Regions from separate parts of the Homo sapiens genome. Here regions 1, 2, 3, 5 and 6 are each linked to region 4. The links are contacts of gene promoters, found by promoter capture Hi-C in blood cells and fetal thymus (Javierre and others, 2016). All regions are on one chromosome and are shown on one strand. Each heading gives the region's core, a stretch centred on a gene start or on the middle of the fragment in contact. The rest is flanking DNA. Distances are from core to core; before and after follow the strand shown.

Region 1 (2,700 bases), core at 9-2,508, 180 kb before region 4:
TTAAAATTTTTTGAAAATCTATAAAAATCTGTAAAGGGAGGACACACCTATACCAGGCCAATATATGTGGTTTGGATAGTCCCATTTGGATTTGTGTGATAAAAATAATGGATAATGCATATAAAGAGGAAGAGGATAGACTACTTCTTTGGAGAATATAGGTAGGAATTTTAAAGGAGGTAGGAAAATGGGAAGATATAGAGACTCCTCATAATTAGGAGAAGAATTAAAAAGTGAAAATAGGCTAGGTGTGGTGACTCATGCCTGTAATCCCAGCACTCTGGGAGGCCAAGGCAGGCCGATCACTTCAGGCCAACATGGTGAAACCCCATCTCTACTAAAAATACAAAAATTAGCCTGGTGTGGTGGTGTGTGCCTGCAGTCCCAGCTACTCAGGAGGCTGAGGCAGGAGAATTGATTGAACCCGGGAGGCAGAGGTTGCAATGAGCCAAGATCGCATCAATGCATTCCAGCCTAGGTGACAGAGCAAGACTCCATCTCCAAAAGAAAGAAAATAAAGCAATTACTGAGTGCTATGTTACAGGTAGTTTTTCTGAAAGTTTTCAATGGATTCACTTATTTAATCCTCATTACAATCCTACGAAGTAGCAGATGTTATTATCCCCATTTTCAGCATGAGGAAATTGAGGCTTACTCCTAATCACTTTATGAAACACTACCAAACTATGAGTTATTTACAGGATTCATATTTTCAACGGAATTATTTCTGCTTTTGAAACTGTTCAGAGGGCCTATGTAATCACTATTTCTTCTGAGTATTTGTTTTTGTGCTTTATTATAAATAAGGCTTCTCCTGAGAATTTGGTCCCCCGCTGGGTGGACACTGTTGTTAAACCAAAACGCTACCCAATTCCAAAGTGAACAGAATCAGCCCCTCAAGCCAGCAACGGGTCAACAAGGACAGGACCTAACAACGGAGAAAGTCAATATGGACATTTGTTCTGGGAAAACTGCCTTAGGACTTTGACTAATTTAAGGGTTGAGGGTTTGTTTCTTTCTTTCTTTCTTTGTGAGAAGGATGAGATGAGGGGGCTGGTCAGTCAGCAAACAAACAATCTTCCAGACTCAATGGCAATTTTTGTTAACCAAAGGCATCTCAGTATCATGAGATTTGTAAAGGAAAGGTTAAAATACTGTATGATATAGTAATGTCTTTTATAAGAAAGAAAATAGGCCACTGTATCACTGAAGTACCAGTTGTTACGTACTCAGTTGTGAAGCAGTAACAAAAACGGGAAGAAGAGAAATGTCAAGACTGCCCTTTTGTTAAAAACCCACTATATTATGTGGCTTGGATAAAAACAAAAACTAAAAAGCAATGGCGGCCGGGTGTGGTGGCTCACTCCTGTAATCCCAGCACTTTGGGAGGCCAAGGCAGGTGGATCACAACGTCAAGAGATCGAGACCATCCTGGCCAACATGGTGAAACCCTAACTTTACTAAAAATATAAAAATTAGCTGGGTGTGGTGGCATATGCCTGTAGTCCCAGCTACTTGGGAGGCTGAGGCAGGAGAATCACCTGAACCCAGGAGGCAGAGGCTGCAGTGAGCTGAGATTGTGCCACCGCACTCCAGCCTGGCGACAGAGTGAGACTCCGTCTGAAAAAAAAAGCAATGGCATAGTCAATCCTCAAATCTCTATATATTGTGTGGTAGACAGAAAAGAAAGCGAGACCTCAACATGAAAGAAAATACTTCATTTCTATCATCAAGGGGCTTACAACCCAAGGGTTAGGTGGGGGAAACAGGGAGAGTAACCCACACAGAAATTTACAGTAAGGTGCTCCTGCCTATTAAGATGGGAGCTCTCAACTGTACAGGCAGTTTTGCCCTTCAAGGAATTTTAGGCAATGTCTGGAGATACTTTTGGTTGTCATAACTATGTGAGGAGGGGGTGCTACTACCGGCATCCAGTATGCGAGAGTCCAGCGGTGATGCTAAACATCCTACGATGCACAAGACAGCCTTTCAAAACAAAGACTCTTTCGTCCCAGTGTTAATAATGCCACAGTGTAGAAATCCTATCCTAGAAGAGGCTGTGCCAATTTCCTTCCCGACTCCTTTCAGTGGCAGATTTCAGAAAAGGCACAGAAACTAGTCAAGCCCCAGGAATGGCACAGGTATCTCATGAACTATTGACATGCTTCCTTCTTATATCTGATATTCACAGTTATCAAGAGTTATTTCACATCTTGTCTTGACATGCAAAGGAGATGTTTCTAGCTAATTGGAGGGTGCAGGAAACGTCATCTTCACTGTAAATAGCCTAATTCAATACTCAAGAATTCATACTGATTTGAGTTCTGGACAGTCAGATGGACAGGAAAAGCTATGCTATAAATCAAGAACGATCAATTCAACACAATAATGATAAACTATGCCCTAAAACTATATAGAATGAAGCTGAACAATTCTAATGTTTCAAAAAGCACACTAGGAATCTGCTTTTGGTGTTTCTGAGTCATTCCGAACATCAACTATGAGTGCATTATTGATATCTGAGAGTGTCACTTAAAAGTCTCTTATGTCTGATAAAATAGTAAATAAAGGAACGTTACTATACTTGCAAACAAAACCAGAAGTTGGCTAATGCTTAGCTTACAATAAGCTTACGGAGTTTCACATATAGCCTCCTTACTCTCCCAAATTCTCCATGATAAAACAGCAAATCAGCCGGGT
Region 2 (2,700 bases), core at 128-2,627, 190 kb after region 4:
CAAGGTTCTCATTCAATTATATTACTTCCATAATCGGGAAGCAAGTGCAACCACAGTTAGCCTCATGACACACGTTCATAGTCACAGCTAAATCAGCAACAGCTTCATGTTAGGTTGAACCCCATGAAGTTGCCAATATTTGACCTTTAATCCACAGAAACACAATTTCCTGTGATTTAACCAATGATCTTTCTGTCTATGTTTAAACATAATTATTCAAGTTTTCTTATTTTGTTTTAATTTCAGGGTATCATAATTAGTACACTTTGAAAAAGCCTTATTTTATGTTTATTTACATATTCAAAGATTGGAGATAATGACCTAATAATTTTGTGCTACATTTGAGCATAAAACACATCAGCCTTGGTTAGGTTAGTGAAAAAAAAGCTTTAATTTCATCTCAAGGCCCTGGGCTTAAATAGAAAGATGAGGCATCAGTGATGATGAACATCCCATGGAGGTATGAAATAATGGGCCTCCTTTTTGTTGATTACAGTGTGTTGTGTCGTCAAGGTGCAGAGTATATCTAGGGCTCACACAGAAATATATGCTGCAATGGTACGCTTTAAGAAGTAGCAAAATATCTTGAAGTATATCAATGGATGGCTGTTCTTAGTTATCTAAAGAGTGCTTTAGAAAGAAAACACAACAATTGACCCTGAGTAGCAACAAGTATGGTTTTTTTTACATGTTCAATATTATTGTGATTCAATTTTTTTTAGTCTGTTGAAAATCCAGAAATCACTGAGATCTACCCAAGTCATTATATTCACAACAAAAGTACCATGTGTCTCCTGGCATGGCGGGCTAGACCTTCATTCCCGCTGGGTCAAAGAGACCTGGGATCAAATTGTAGCTACTGACTTGCTAGTTATAGGACCATGAGCAAGTCATTTCACCTGTCTGGGTTAATTTTCTCATGTGTAGAATGGAGTGAAAAAGGGTGATTACTTCACAGGGTCACTAATAAAATGAGACCACATGTGCAAAACACTTAATGAACATGAGCACGGGTTCTTGTTACAAATTAATGAACGTCTGCCCACTCACAAGCCTTTAGCTATAAAATATGCAAGCGGTATATATGCTCTTATCCCATATTTGAATAACCAGCAGGAAATCTTTGAAAGGCAGAAACACTCTGAAGAAAATGATAGTGCTGTAGGAATGATATGACCTCCTTTTAACCTTGGTTTTAAAATTGTACATAAAAGAAAAATAAAAATCAAAGATAACTAATTGGCTTGGGTGAATAAATTATGGCATATCAATATAATAGATGACTTGTATGTTTTGTGTTTGCATGTACATTTTTAAAAGTCTGGACTATGTATGTCAAAGATGCTTATTCAGAGTAGTGAACTTGCAAATAATTTTTCATTTCTACTTTATGTATTTCTTATATTGTCAAAAACTTCTCGGCTGGGTGCAGTGGCTCATGCCTGTAATCCCAGCACTTTAGGAGGACAAGGTGGGAGGATCACCTGAGATCAGGAGTTCGAGACCAGTCTGGCCAACATGGTGAAACCCTGTCTGTACTAAAAATGCAAAAATTAGCTGGGCAAGGTGGCACACCCCTGTAATCCCAGCTGCTGGGGAGGCTGAGGTGAGAGAATTGCTTGAACCTGGAAGGTAGAGGCTGCAGTGAGCTGAGATGGCGCCACTGCACTCCAGCCTGGGTGACAGAGTGAGACCCCATCTTAAAAAACAAAAAAAAAAAAACAACTTCTCCAATAAGCATATATCTATACTTAGTACAGATATATAAATAAATAAATATAAAAATAACTTTAAATTTAGAAAATAAAATATTTATGATACATGTTCTTATTAATTCAATAGCTGAATCTCATGTCACACTCCTTCATACTGTATAAGACTGAGGGCTTGAAATGGGGGTCTGGGGAATTTCTAACACCCTCTTGCATCAAAACTATTTTATTATATATACAGCAGTGTGTGGGCCCTGATTTTTCACCTGGAAATTATATATTTCAAGACAGAATTGTTTCCTCTTCATCCTCCTTGCTGTCACTTTGTCCATGTATATTTGTCTCATCACAACAACTAAATTATGAGCTTCTGAATGACAAACCTCATTTCCTTTATCTTGTTTGTTGCAGTTTTTTGTGTGTTTGTTTGTTTGTTTTGGCATAGTACCTATCCTAGAGTTAGGTATTTACTAGTCACACAAAAAGTAAAGGATGTGTTGTTTTCCCTCTGGATGTGGTTCCTGCAGCCAAGTCTATAATACAGAATCCAAATACGTAGTCCATGAGTAGGTTTCAGGTAGTTCCTACGGACATCCTATGGACATTTCGGTGATTCCAATCCCTACTGTATAATGATTTCACCTACAAAGCTTTAAGAAAATCCTGATGCCCAAACTCCACCCCCAGAGATTCTAATATAATTGTTTCCAGTATTGAAAACAAACAAACAAATAAAGAAAAAACATCCCCAGAACTCTAATATGCAGCCAGGTTGATAATTCTATATTAGGATAAAATAAAGGAAAAAAAGTTTTTGCAGGTTCAATTGTGTTGTGGTTTTAATTTTGCTGTTTTCCATAAATATTCCATAAATATTTATTCTATAAATATTTATTCTATAAATATTTATTCTATAAATATTTATTTTTCAGAAGATGGAATTTGGAAAGAAATCAGCCTCTGTCCTTTAATAATAATAGCTAGTATT
Region 3 (2,700 bases), core at 31-2,530, 230 kb before region 4:
ATGTAACTCTGTGGATATCAAATGAAGTCATACACACTGTAGGCAAATGTCTAATCTTCAGGTAACACCACTATAACACGTTAATTGTGTGTGTGTGTGTGTGTGTGTGTGTGTGTGTGTCTGTGTGTAAGTGGGGGAAGCTAAAGATGAAGGATTCTTATGGGCTGTGAAATGACTATTTACTGGTAAATATCAGGACAGAAATGTGGGTGAAGGTATTGCTGCAGATCCCCCGGAGATGAAAAGCCCCAATTTTCAACTTACTTGCTTTTGATTTTGCCCAGAATATTCTCTCTTGTTCCAAAAGGAAATCTTTCTACTTTTACATGTTTTTAAGGGATCCTACAGTTATACTTCTAGGGAAAATATAAATAATTCAAATAGGTCTAAAAAAGAAAGGCCTTGATTATTGTATATTACAATTTAAGAAGAAAATTAAAAGTAGGAAAAAGCTGACAGTCAGATCAGAAGCATTACAGGAAGTTTCTTGCTCATTTTCTCCAGAGGTTAAGCCAGAATATATTTTTTAAAAGGGCAGAAGTTTAAGGTCTAGCTAGGGAATAAAGACATGTTTTGTCTGACACTTCCCAATTCAAATCCAACATTTATCAAATGATTCTTAAGTAGTGTATTAAAAAAAAAAGGCAACCAGGAGCTGGCAGCCTGGGTATATTAAGCTTTCATTATTGTAAATTTGTATTTTAAAAACCCAATATCTTTTCTGTAAATATGCAAGGGTTTCTCTGACAATTTCTCTTTTTTAAAGCCACCTCTCAATGAAACATTTTAAATAAAACTCCTATATCTAAAATGAAGTCTTGGCATTTGGGAGTTTAAAATCTCCCCAAATTCAGAGGGGGATAAAAAAGGTGCATAATTACACCTCATCTGAGTGTAAGTCAAAAAGTAATCAAAAATGTTTAAAACCAAAAAGTAACATCTTAGAGTGGCATTTTAAACAAAAAAAGTACTTACTGGCATTTTCTAAATTTTCATGCAATTTGTTATTCATTAAATCAGAAGAAAATGTGCACTACCATTTTTTGATATGGCAGATAGCATTCAAAATTGGCATTAACACAATAGGCCACCACTATGTGAAAAACCAAATGCTTTAATGAGGCTATCAAGAACAAGTCGATTATTTCATTGGATACATTAATATCGATCCATAATATACAGTGCTATGGACCATACAGAAATTATTGCTGCATCCAACAGCAGGTGACTATTATTAACATTACAGTACCAAGCATCCGCAAGAGACAGTCATTTGTCATTTTTTATCAAGAAATAGGGCTGTTTTATACTGTTATTGACATCAACTTTTTCCCAGTGCATTTTTCAAAAATATTAATAAGTTCATTCCTTTGTGCTTTTAACTTCCTATGTATTGTATTTGTTCTTATTGCTTTATTGTTTAAAAACAACCAGAAAGAATTTTGTCATCCTATGTATGACCAGGTTGCTTGTATGCTTTTTGGCAAAGTCAGAAGGTTTGGTATTTCCATTGCCCTACTCAGAGGCAGATGGACAATTTTGGCATTTTGGTCACTCCATATAGAGGCCCAACCCCGAGTTACAATTCTGCACCCGGGAATCGGGGGAGTGGTGTGGATCATTTTCTTGTTACAAACAACAAGCCCAAACCACTGCCTCTTGGCTTAGCTAGCCCCTGAAATGAATCCACACTCTATTTGGCAAAAAAGAAATAAATAAAACCACCCCCAAGATTGCAGCATTCTCCTGGGCTTGCTCACCTGCCACCTGCAGAAATTGTCTCTTAAGGAGAAGGGGAGGGGGAGGCAGGCAATGGCAAGGTTAGGAGTTGTGACAGTCAGGGCAGTGGTACAAGATGCCATACTTTCTTTCAACAAAGCTTTCTATATGGTTGCTTAACCATGGTCCTGTTCCCGTGGCCGTAGGTTAGTCAACCTTGCTTTATTTTTAAAAACCCTCAAAATCAGCTAAGGAAAACTAACATCATAGCATCACGATCTTCAACTTTTGCATCCAGCGCCCTCCCCCCCATATAAATATGAAGAGAAAAATAGACAATGCTATGATTGTATCAATGAACACTATGGTACAATTAGCTGTTCATGCAGATTTGCGTCACTATTCTAGGAAAAGAGCTATACAGTTAAGGGGGTTGAAAGAATGGGAACTAATTTTCCCTACCCCCTTAAGAAATAAAGCTATAAAACTGATAGCATCACCAATGTTTCCAAGGATTCTCATTGCCCAGCGTGCATGGGAACTATGCAGTTGATTATTTTCACCTAAACCGTCCATTCACACATCTGACGATCACTCCTCTCTGAACCCTCCATCACCCATCACCAATTCACATTTGACATTTAAACACTTTTTAAAAACCCTCCTGAATAAGGTTTCCTGATGAAAGAAGTTGGCACTCTGTCACTAAAATATATTTAATATTAAAAATATCTGAAGGAAAATTGGAAGCTCTTATATTGTCTACATAGGCACCATGCTACATGTTCGTCTTGACTATAGATACCATCATGAAACTTTCCCCTACATTACAGTTCAGTCAGTGCTAGTCCAAAAAAGACTACTGCTATATTTAAGGCACTTCATTCTGAATGGATATGCTTTATGCCACTTGCTATTCAGTTGTAGGCTGCTACTGAGAAATTCCATTCAACAGCCTGGCTCATAACACTATATGGCATC
Region 4 (2,700 bases), core at 144-2,643:
ACCCTCTCCCACTCTGCCAGCCAGGCCCATTCACCCAGGCCCCATCCACAGCGAAGGGCAAGGCAGGAAGTTACAGCCGAGTGCAGAAGCCCTGCTGGATGCTTCCAATGATAGCCTTATCCTAGCTCACAGCTTAGAGGGGTGGAAATAAACCCTTCTCAGCTATTCCAGCCTCCATTGACCATGTCCCTTTTAGGAAACATTGTAAACGAGAAGTACGAGGCGTCCAGAGTGGCTGCCGGACAGAGAGAACGGAAGACACCCAATCCATTTCGACAGACAAGTGGGAATGGAGGCAGCAAAAAGGGTGGCTCAAGGGAAGTGGGCACTAGAGGGGATGGGGCATCAGAGCAGTGGATGTCTTCACTCCTCGTCTAAAAAGTTTCTGAAGTCCCCAGCGAATTAAACACGTGTCTCTGCCAAGCGGGGTACACTCCCAGTAACCCCCAAGACCAAGGCTCATTTCCCCTCTGCAGGTAAGGCCTGGATTTGAATGGGACTCTATTTCCAGAGAGTTTAACTTGAACAAGGGGACACGCCCACCGCTGCCCTGGCCCCTCCCGCGCCCGCTAGCAGCGGTCTGGAGGTGAGAGGCGGAGCCCAGAGAAACCTCACCTGCAGGAGCCCAGAGGCTAGTTTCCCCACAGAGACCGGACTCCCAAGAGGTGACTCCAAGCGAACTAATTGCTTCCCTCCAATGTCGCATCTCAGTCCACCCAAAGCTCTCCCTCTCCGAGCCCTCAACCCGCTGGGATCTTCAGAAAGGGGGTTCACTAGAACTCTTTCTCCCCCATCCCACCGGGACAGCGTCCCGGCCCGGCGCTCCTCCTCCCCCACATCGCGCCAGGTCGCTCCCCAGCCCCCAATCAGTCTCAGCAGCTGGCATCCTCGGCCGAGGGTCCCCGCGCCTGGACGCTTCGTCCCCGGCGACCCGCCGCGCCCCCGCGAAGTGCGCTCCATCCGAGCTTCCTAAAGGCGCACTTGGGCCGGGCAGGCGCGGCCCCCAACTGCGAGGGGCAGTTCGCCCTCTGCTCCGGGGCAAGGGCACTGGGTCCTTGTCCCAGAGCTCCCGCGACCCGCTCTCCTCGCCCCAGAGTGGCAGACGCAGTGCCCCCCAGCCGCCCGGTGCGCCTCTGCCCAGCTGTCACCACTCACCTGCTCTTCAGCGGTTGACTTTTGAGTTCGTAATAGGTTTTGGGCTCTTCATGAAACTCCTCCCCGACTTCGAAATCCGGCACGATCCCCGATTCGGACTGCATGGCTCCCGCTTCCCGTCCTTCCACTGCTGGAAAGTGAGAACAGAGCCCGGGGGCGGAGGGAAGGTAGCTGGGCCTGGGTCCCCCGAGCCGTGCGCCCCGGCGCAGTGCCGAGCTCTGCCCGCTCGCCGGCTCGCGGCCGCCCGCCCCAGCGCGGGGAGTTTACACTCGCACCCGGGCGGGAGGGGCTGGCGGCCGAGCGCCGCCTGGGATCTGTAGTTCGGCCCGGGCGGGGCATTCCCAGCTCGCCTGGGGAGCCGCTCCCACGAAAACTACAGCTCCCAGAAGGCCAGGCGGGGGAGAGGCAACGTGGTGGACACCGCTAGTGCAACTCCTGTTTGGATTCATTGTCAATGTCAGCAGCTCCTCTCCCTCCTCTCTCCCCACTTGCTTCAAGGGTACAGACTTGGCTACTTAATATGAATAAGAATGGACACTGACTGCTCTTCTACCATCGCCCCGACCTCTCAGCTCAGACATCTGCGAGGGCACGCCAAGTGCTTATTTTAAAAATAAAATAGTCAAGGGTTTTGGCACAAGAAAGTTTTAGCATTCGAGCCTGTCTTAAAATAAAAGGACTTCCTATCAGCTCGCATGCTTCCCTGGGCTGCTGCGACATATCAGCTTGTCCTCGGATTGGAACAACGAGGAAGAACTTTCCTTCGCTCTGTAATGAAAACGTTATTGGAGAAATTGTTCTTGTGCGTTCCTTTTCTAGAACTAAGTCTGGACTTTTACAATAGTATTCATCAGTTGAATGGCTCTTTCCCCTTTATCCAAGTAGCCACTTCTAATCTACAGCAGCAATTGAAAGATTCGGTTAATTTTAAAAGGCACAAAGTTACAAAATAGCGTCGTTGCTCTCTGCTTTTAATTTCTCAGTTGACTGGGAGTTCAAATGAGATTTGTCCTAGCATTTCAGGAGTGAAGATGTACAAGTGAACTGTACAAGTGTCCACCCCTTCCCGAGCTTCCCGGAACTCACTTAGGGAAGAGAATTTTAAAACTCTCCGTTGTGGCTCATTTGTACTTCTAGTTCTTCCCTCTGATTAGCTCCAGTAGGACGTGTTCCTTCTTTTCAAAAGTGTTTTGAGGCATCAGGGAGGCAGTATAGAGTTACAGTGGCATTTAAAGGTATAAGACTCAGAGTTGAAATCCCCAGTCCTTCTAAGAAGAGCTGTGCAATCCTGAGCATGTCACTTGGTTCCTAGAAGCCTCCATTTCTTCATCCATAAAAGAAGAGATTGGCAAACCAGTTTTAGAAGATGTTGCAAGGTCAAATGTAAGAGAAAGTGATTTGCAATCTATAAAAACTCTGCTCAGTGGTCATTCTTTATTAGGTCTTGAAGTTATTCCTTTCAGATTAACATCTCATTTTGGTGTTTGGCCTTTCAGAATTAATAAACTAAATGACTGTCCTAGGAGAAAATTCTAAAGAGGCTAC
Region 5 (2,700 bases), core at 90-2,589, 210 kb before region 4:
TTGTTTTCAAAAAGTAGATAGATCTAGATTTCTAACAGCAAAAGGTCTTCAAAACATGCTGCTTAGTAGAAAAAAATCAACATAAAATGGACAATATGATACCGTTTGTGTTAAAACATATAGAAATCCATATGATTTATTTTCTGTGTGCATGTGTCTATATTCTTAATACACAGAAAAAGGTCAGGAAGAGCAATGCCAAATTGAAACCAACACGCATATTCCTGGGGACTAAAGGGGAACTCTGGCCTTATTCTATCATTTTTATAAGGAGAAAGTGTTTATATATGACTCACATTCTTAAAAATCAATTTAAGAAACAGAGGACATGAGGCCATGAGATGAGAAATTCACACACAATTTCCTACCTCCAAGCCCAATCCCTTTTTAAAAAAATCTGTGCAACTTGTCTTACATGTTTATATTAAACCAAAATTAAAGTATTCGTAGGAGACAACTTGAAGATTTGATCAAGAGTAAATTAAACACGTAAAAAATATTTTAAATGCTTTAGGGCTATTTTTTTTAAGTCACGAATCATGTCAGAAATTTAGGAGGCTGCCTCATCCATTTACTCCCCTTCAGATCTGTTTCTTTCTTTCTTTTTCTTTCAAATCTCATTGGAGAAGGTGCTTCCCTAATCCCCTTTTGTTAATAAGTTCCAGTGTGAGCAACACTTATAATTGGGTAGTTGGGGATCAATTCTCCCTCTTACCAAAAAGAGAGAGAGAGAGAGAGAAAACCACTACTAGAAACAAGAAAAATAAAAACTCTTCAGAAACTGAAAATAAGTATATATACAAAATTCAATTTGATCTGAGATAAAATATGGGGAAAATATATACCTTGGTTTCTGTCAAATACAATTTTCTTCCATAAGAGAGAATTTTAACAGCTGTAGGAATCAACTCTCCTCTACAGAATTTCTGGAAACATTTTTGATATATGGGGAACATTAATATCAAATGTCATGAACATAAATAAAACCAACTTACTCAGGTTGTGATTGTCCTTTTTCTGCCTCTCTTTGGCCAGTGCTCTTGCTTCAGACTCTGTGGGAAAAATACACGCTGTGCACGTGAATGAAGTCATTAGAAGTTGGAACTGTTTGAAGTTGCACAAAATGTAAACTACAAAATATCTCATTTCCCAAACATACAGAAGCTTATTTGACTTGACTCTAAGTAAAAATACGTTTTTTTAAAAATGATATCTTTTTAAAAAGCTTGCATGTTTTCAAAAGCAATATATATATCATATATACAATATGTAAAAACTGGGCTTCCACAAAATGGTAAAAAAAAACCCTGGTAAAAATTATATATAGCACACTGTAAACATATACAGATACTAGCAAGAAAGAAATCGATAATTAGAAAACTATGTCAATTTGCTGTTGATACTCTATTATCAGGGGTCTGATATATTTTCTTTTCAGGCCATAGAAGCTTTCAATCCTTTTTTGATGCCTGTGTAACGTGCTGATATAAAAACTGAGTAGTGGCCCAGCATGGTTGCTTGCACCTGTAATTCCAGCACTTTGGGAAGTGGAAGTGGAAAGATCACTTGAGCCCAGGAGTTCAAGATCAGCCTTGGTCTTTACAAAAAATAAAAAAAAATAAGTCCAGCATGGTGGTGCATGCTTGCAGTCCCAGCTACGGGAGGCTGAGGTGGGAGGATCACTTGAGCCCAGGAGGTCGAGGTTGTAGTGAGCCGTGATCACACCACTGCACACCAGCTCAGGAGACACAGAGAGACCCTGTCTCAAAAAAAAAAAAAAAAAAAAAAGCTGCCAAATTGGATCTCTGTCTCTTCTAACTAGTTCACTACTTCATAGAATGAACTCATTTTTTCAGAAGTTGGTGCCAGATTCTGTTAAAACCTGCTGTAATGAAATCATCTAATAACTTAGGAACCACTATTTACTAGCTTGAGTCTATAAAAACAAAATAGGAATAGAGGCATTTGGTGGCAACTGCAATTGGAAAGCTCTATTTGCATAGCAACTCTTGTGACATCTCTGGGATAAGAGATTACTTTTTGCCTTACAGAGAACAAAACAAAACAAAACAGAATTAAAAACAAAACAAAACATGTTACTTGACCAATCTGGGGATCCAGAAAGCTCTGTTATTTCCTTTTCAGAAGTGATAGCTGAAGCATTACACTACCATAATTTAGAATTTTATCTCAAAATAGAAATCTTTTTAGCATAACTTATAGCCACTGAAGCATATATATATATATATATATACACACCATATATATTTATTATATGGGTGTTATATATGTATATATGCATATCTATATGCATACATCCATGTATATATGCATATCTATATGCATACATCCATGTATATATGCATATATATGCATATCTATGTGTGTGTGTGTATGTGTGTGCATATATATATATATATATATATATATATAACTCAGAAGTTGAATTCTTTCAGTTGTGATGGTCAGTTCAAATCATTTTCTAGTTTTTTTTTCCTCACACAGAAGCATGACTTACATACCCTCCACTTCAATGATTCTTAAGTTGTTGTTGTTGTTGTTGTTTTGTTTTGTTTTGCTTTGTTTTGAGACAGGACTCATTCCTCTTGCCCAGGCTGGAGTGCAGTGGTGTGATCACAGCTCATTGCAGCCTGGAACTCCTGAGCTCAAGCAATCTGCCTGCCTCAGCTTCCCAAAGTG
Region 6 (2,700 bases), core at 39-2,538, 140 kb before region 4:
TATAAGAAGAAATCTTAGACATAGCAGGTCTTCACCTTATGAGAGTGACACCTCTAGCAACAGATCCCCTAACTGAGGGGACAAAGGCAAGCTGATCTGAGACACACTACATCTGTTCTGGCTTCTTGCAGCCACCATGATGCTATTTAGGGTCTGTATTCCTGGCTAAATAAACCAGAAACAAAATCTAAGGGTAGGTTGTGGGAGAAGTCCCTTTTGCCAATCTGTAGCCCACCAATCCACCTGTAACTCCACACACATTTTCATGTTCTGTGTTATACCTAAAAAATAAATCACACCTTGAAAATTCTACTCCATGCAGATTTCATAATTTACAGAGAAAGACCAGTAGTTCAGCCATTAACCCTTCCCCTCACTAGTGAAATATGGAATGTCAGTTTTTGAAAGAGGGTAACAAGGAGCAGGGCTTCCAGCCCACCTCGCTAGAATCTCAATACAAATGAGAGGCAACTTTGACGAGATAACCACCAAATAAATGCCCACGTAAATTTAGTTTACAATGTAGAAGGTCCCAGAAAAAGTGCTTCTGTATTTGACAAACAGCAAGCATCATCACTAATTACAGAGCAATTTGCGCAACTCTTGAGATGATTTGGAGAAAAGGGAAAATTTAAAAATAAATTCCTTCAAAGTAGTTAAGAAATGCCCCAAAGTAATAAAAAAAATCTTTTCCTTTTAAAATTCATGCAACCTTTCCCTTAAGCAGAACAGAAAAATTCAAGGGACAATCCGTTCCAGAGAAGACACTTCGACTTTGCCTTTAAAATTTTAAATTTCAAGGTGAAAGGAAGGGAGGGAGAGACAGAGGTAGTGGGGAATCCTTGGCAACTCCCTTCAGATTTCTGAACAGAGAAACATTTTCAAACTGTAAACTAATGTTTTCAAGCTTTCAACCGTCAAAGCCCATCTTGGGAAGGTAGTAGGGGAAGAAATCCTGATGAACTTAGTCCAGGATGAGAGCGACCAGTGCTTTTATAATTCATCAAAGTCAGAGAGACAAAACTATGAAAACAGATGCTTGGTGACTACATAAATGATTAACTTGGTGGTTTGTACCGTGATGCTTTAGCTATAAGGCTGAACTCACCTACAGTTCTGTCCCGTTACTCTGTTTTTGTTTGAAAAAAGCTACATCAAATTTCAAACTTCAGGTTTGCATGACTTGCATGTCAGCAAAACCCACTTGTGGAAGAAACTGATTCCATTAATGGTTCTTGATGACTTTTTTTTTGTTGTTGTTAATTCACAACTCAAAATACAGGGTGTGTTCACCATTACAAAAAAATGCATTATGCACTCCAGGTGTTGGTTAATTTATGGTAAAAGAGCATCCTTAAATTACAATACCCAATTGGGTAAGGTTGTTCTTAAAAAACTTGGAGAATATCTTTACTATGTAAATATATAGCAATAAGACTCATGATTCCATGTCCCCAAAAATGAAAATCAATATGAAGGAAAATTCATATATTATTAAATCAATATAGAAACCAGAGGCTAATCTTACAAAGATTCATGAACTTACTCACGGCACAATGACTATACGTTGAGGAATGAGTGGTGCAGATTTTCGATCTCTAACCCAAAATCTGACTAGTCCTAAGTTTACCAGATGTCAATAACTTTTAAACATGCTTTATAAAGCTTCATATTTTAAATTTTACTCTGCCAAAAAAAGGGATTAACCTGAAAACACTGCTTTAGCTTTTTGAAATCAGTCATTCATCCAGATAGCAGAATGTTGGTAACTTAACTTTGTGTGTGTATGAAAACTAAACTATGACCTTTCTTCCCTCTGGTTCTTACAAACAACTTGGGAGACGGAGAGATTTAACCAGATTCTCTAGTGCATGCAAGTGTGACTAATTGTATACATCTACCTCCACTGAGAAGCAGGCATGTTCTGTTTTAGCAAGTTAAACCTTTAAAAATTAAGCGAATTTACTCAGGCCATACTATGAGAAAATATTTATTCAATATAATCTGTATCATAATGCACTCAATTAGTATACTTGGTATTACCATTCTTTGAAAATATATATTCATGGAGAAATAAATGGTCCAAGATTAAGCATATTAACTGTTTTGCTATTAACCACTTACTTCACAAAATTATGCTTATGATTTAAAAACTATAAAAAAGAAAAAAAAAACCACCTTTCTCTCACTTATCTTTCTATAATGTTTCATAATACTTTTATACACAAAATTTTGAAAATAAGCCAACTATATTTATGAAGTCCTAAGTCTTTAAGTATCTGAAGCAATCACTTATATGATATTCTCTTTAAAAATGTTATCTGATTTTCTTAAAATATTGTCTTAATAAAATCGTGTATTCTTATTTGTTTCTTCATTTAAGAATACCAAAATTTGTCTAAATAGCTATCAAACCTAACCATATAGCTATGGCAATAATTCCTTATTTTTATTTATATGACATAGTTTACTAGTTTATATAACTGAAATATAAAAAAGCAGAAGTTAAATAGACAGGAACTATATTCAGAGTGAAAGAGAAATTTACCTAATACTTATTTTTAGTTAGAGTATGTCGTCCAGCTGTAACAATTTATTTGTGCTTTAACTTTGGACATTTTTCTGGCATACATAAGTTAGGGGTTGTAGCTCAATCCAGTGTCACCAGGACACAGCAACATATAAAAATATTGGTATGTT

The links. The method cuts DNA at HindIII sites, captures the fragments that hold promoters and counts their contacts. A CHiCAGO score of 5 or more calls a contact.
Region 1: a contact is called between a fragment that was not itself captured here and the fragment with the promoter of MITF in region 4, in 1 of 17 cell types (M2 macrophages). The highest score is 5.5, in M2 macrophages.
Region 2: a fragment that was not itself captured here is called in contact with the fragment with the promoter of MITF in region 4 in 1 of 17 cell types (M0 macrophages); the score reaches 5.5 in M0 macrophages.
Region 3: a contact is called between a fragment that was not itself captured here and the fragment with the promoter of MITF in region 4, in 2 of 17 cell types (M2 macrophages and M1 macrophages). The highest score is 5.8, in M2 macrophages.
Region 5: a contact is called between a fragment that was not itself captured here and the fragment with the promoter of MITF in region 4, in 3 of 17 cell types (M2 macrophages, M1 macrophages and M0 macrophages). The highest score is 7.0, in M2 macrophages.
Region 6: a fragment that was not itself captured here is called in contact with the fragment with the promoter of MITF in region 4 in 2 of 17 cell types (M0 macrophages and M2 macrophages); the score reaches 5.1 in M0 macrophages.

What each region holds. Positions count from the first base shown.
Region 1 is chr3:69,921,164-69,923,863 of GRCh38, reverse strand. All of the region lies in intron 2 of MITF (melanocyte inducing transcription factor), which reads right to left. Among named protein-coding and RNA genes, the nearest start is that of SAMMSON, 77 kb to the left of the region's middle. RefSeq lists enhancers at 1,078-1,374, 424-1,829. The HindIII fragment of the contact is 2,746 bases long and covers 1-2,631 here.
Region 2 is chr3:69,544,865-69,547,564 of GRCh38, reverse strand. No RefSeq gene overlaps it. Among named protein-coding and RNA genes, the nearest start is that of FRMD4B, 160 kb to the right of the region's middle. The HindIII fragment of the contact is 1,975 bases long and covers 390-2,364 here.
Region 3 is chr3:69,966,731-69,969,430 of GRCh38, reverse strand. It overlaps MITF (melanocyte inducing transcription factor), which reads right to left. Exons shown (of 10, transcript NM_001354604.2): 10 at 1,099-2,700. Among named protein-coding and RNA genes, the nearest start is that of SAMMSON, 32 kb to the left of the region's middle. The HindIII fragment of the contact is 1,202 bases long and covers 680-1,881 here.
Region 4 is chr3:69,738,157-69,740,856 of GRCh38, reverse strand. It overlaps MITF (melanocyte inducing transcription factor), which reads right to left and starts at 1,393. Exons shown (of 10, transcript NM_001354604.2): 1 at 1,156-1,393. The coding sequence starts at 1,259. RefSeq lists a silencer at 1,158-1,457 and a promoter at 1,257-2,700. The HindIII fragment of the contact is 10,451 bases long and covers 1-2,700 here.
Region 5 is chr3:69,950,182-69,952,881 of GRCh38, reverse strand. MITF (melanocyte inducing transcription factor) reads right to left here. Exons shown (of 10, transcript NM_001354604.2): 7 at 996-1,070. Among named protein-coding and RNA genes, the nearest start is that of SAMMSON, 48 kb to the left of the region's middle. The HindIII fragment of the contact is 223 bases long and covers 1,228-1,450 here.
Region 6 is chr3:69,881,118-69,883,817 of GRCh38, reverse strand. The region is part of intron 2 of MITF (melanocyte inducing transcription factor); the gene reads right to left. Among named protein-coding and RNA genes, the nearest start is that of SAMMSON, 120 kb to the left of the region's middle. The HindIII fragment of the contact is 758 bases long and covers 910-1,667 here.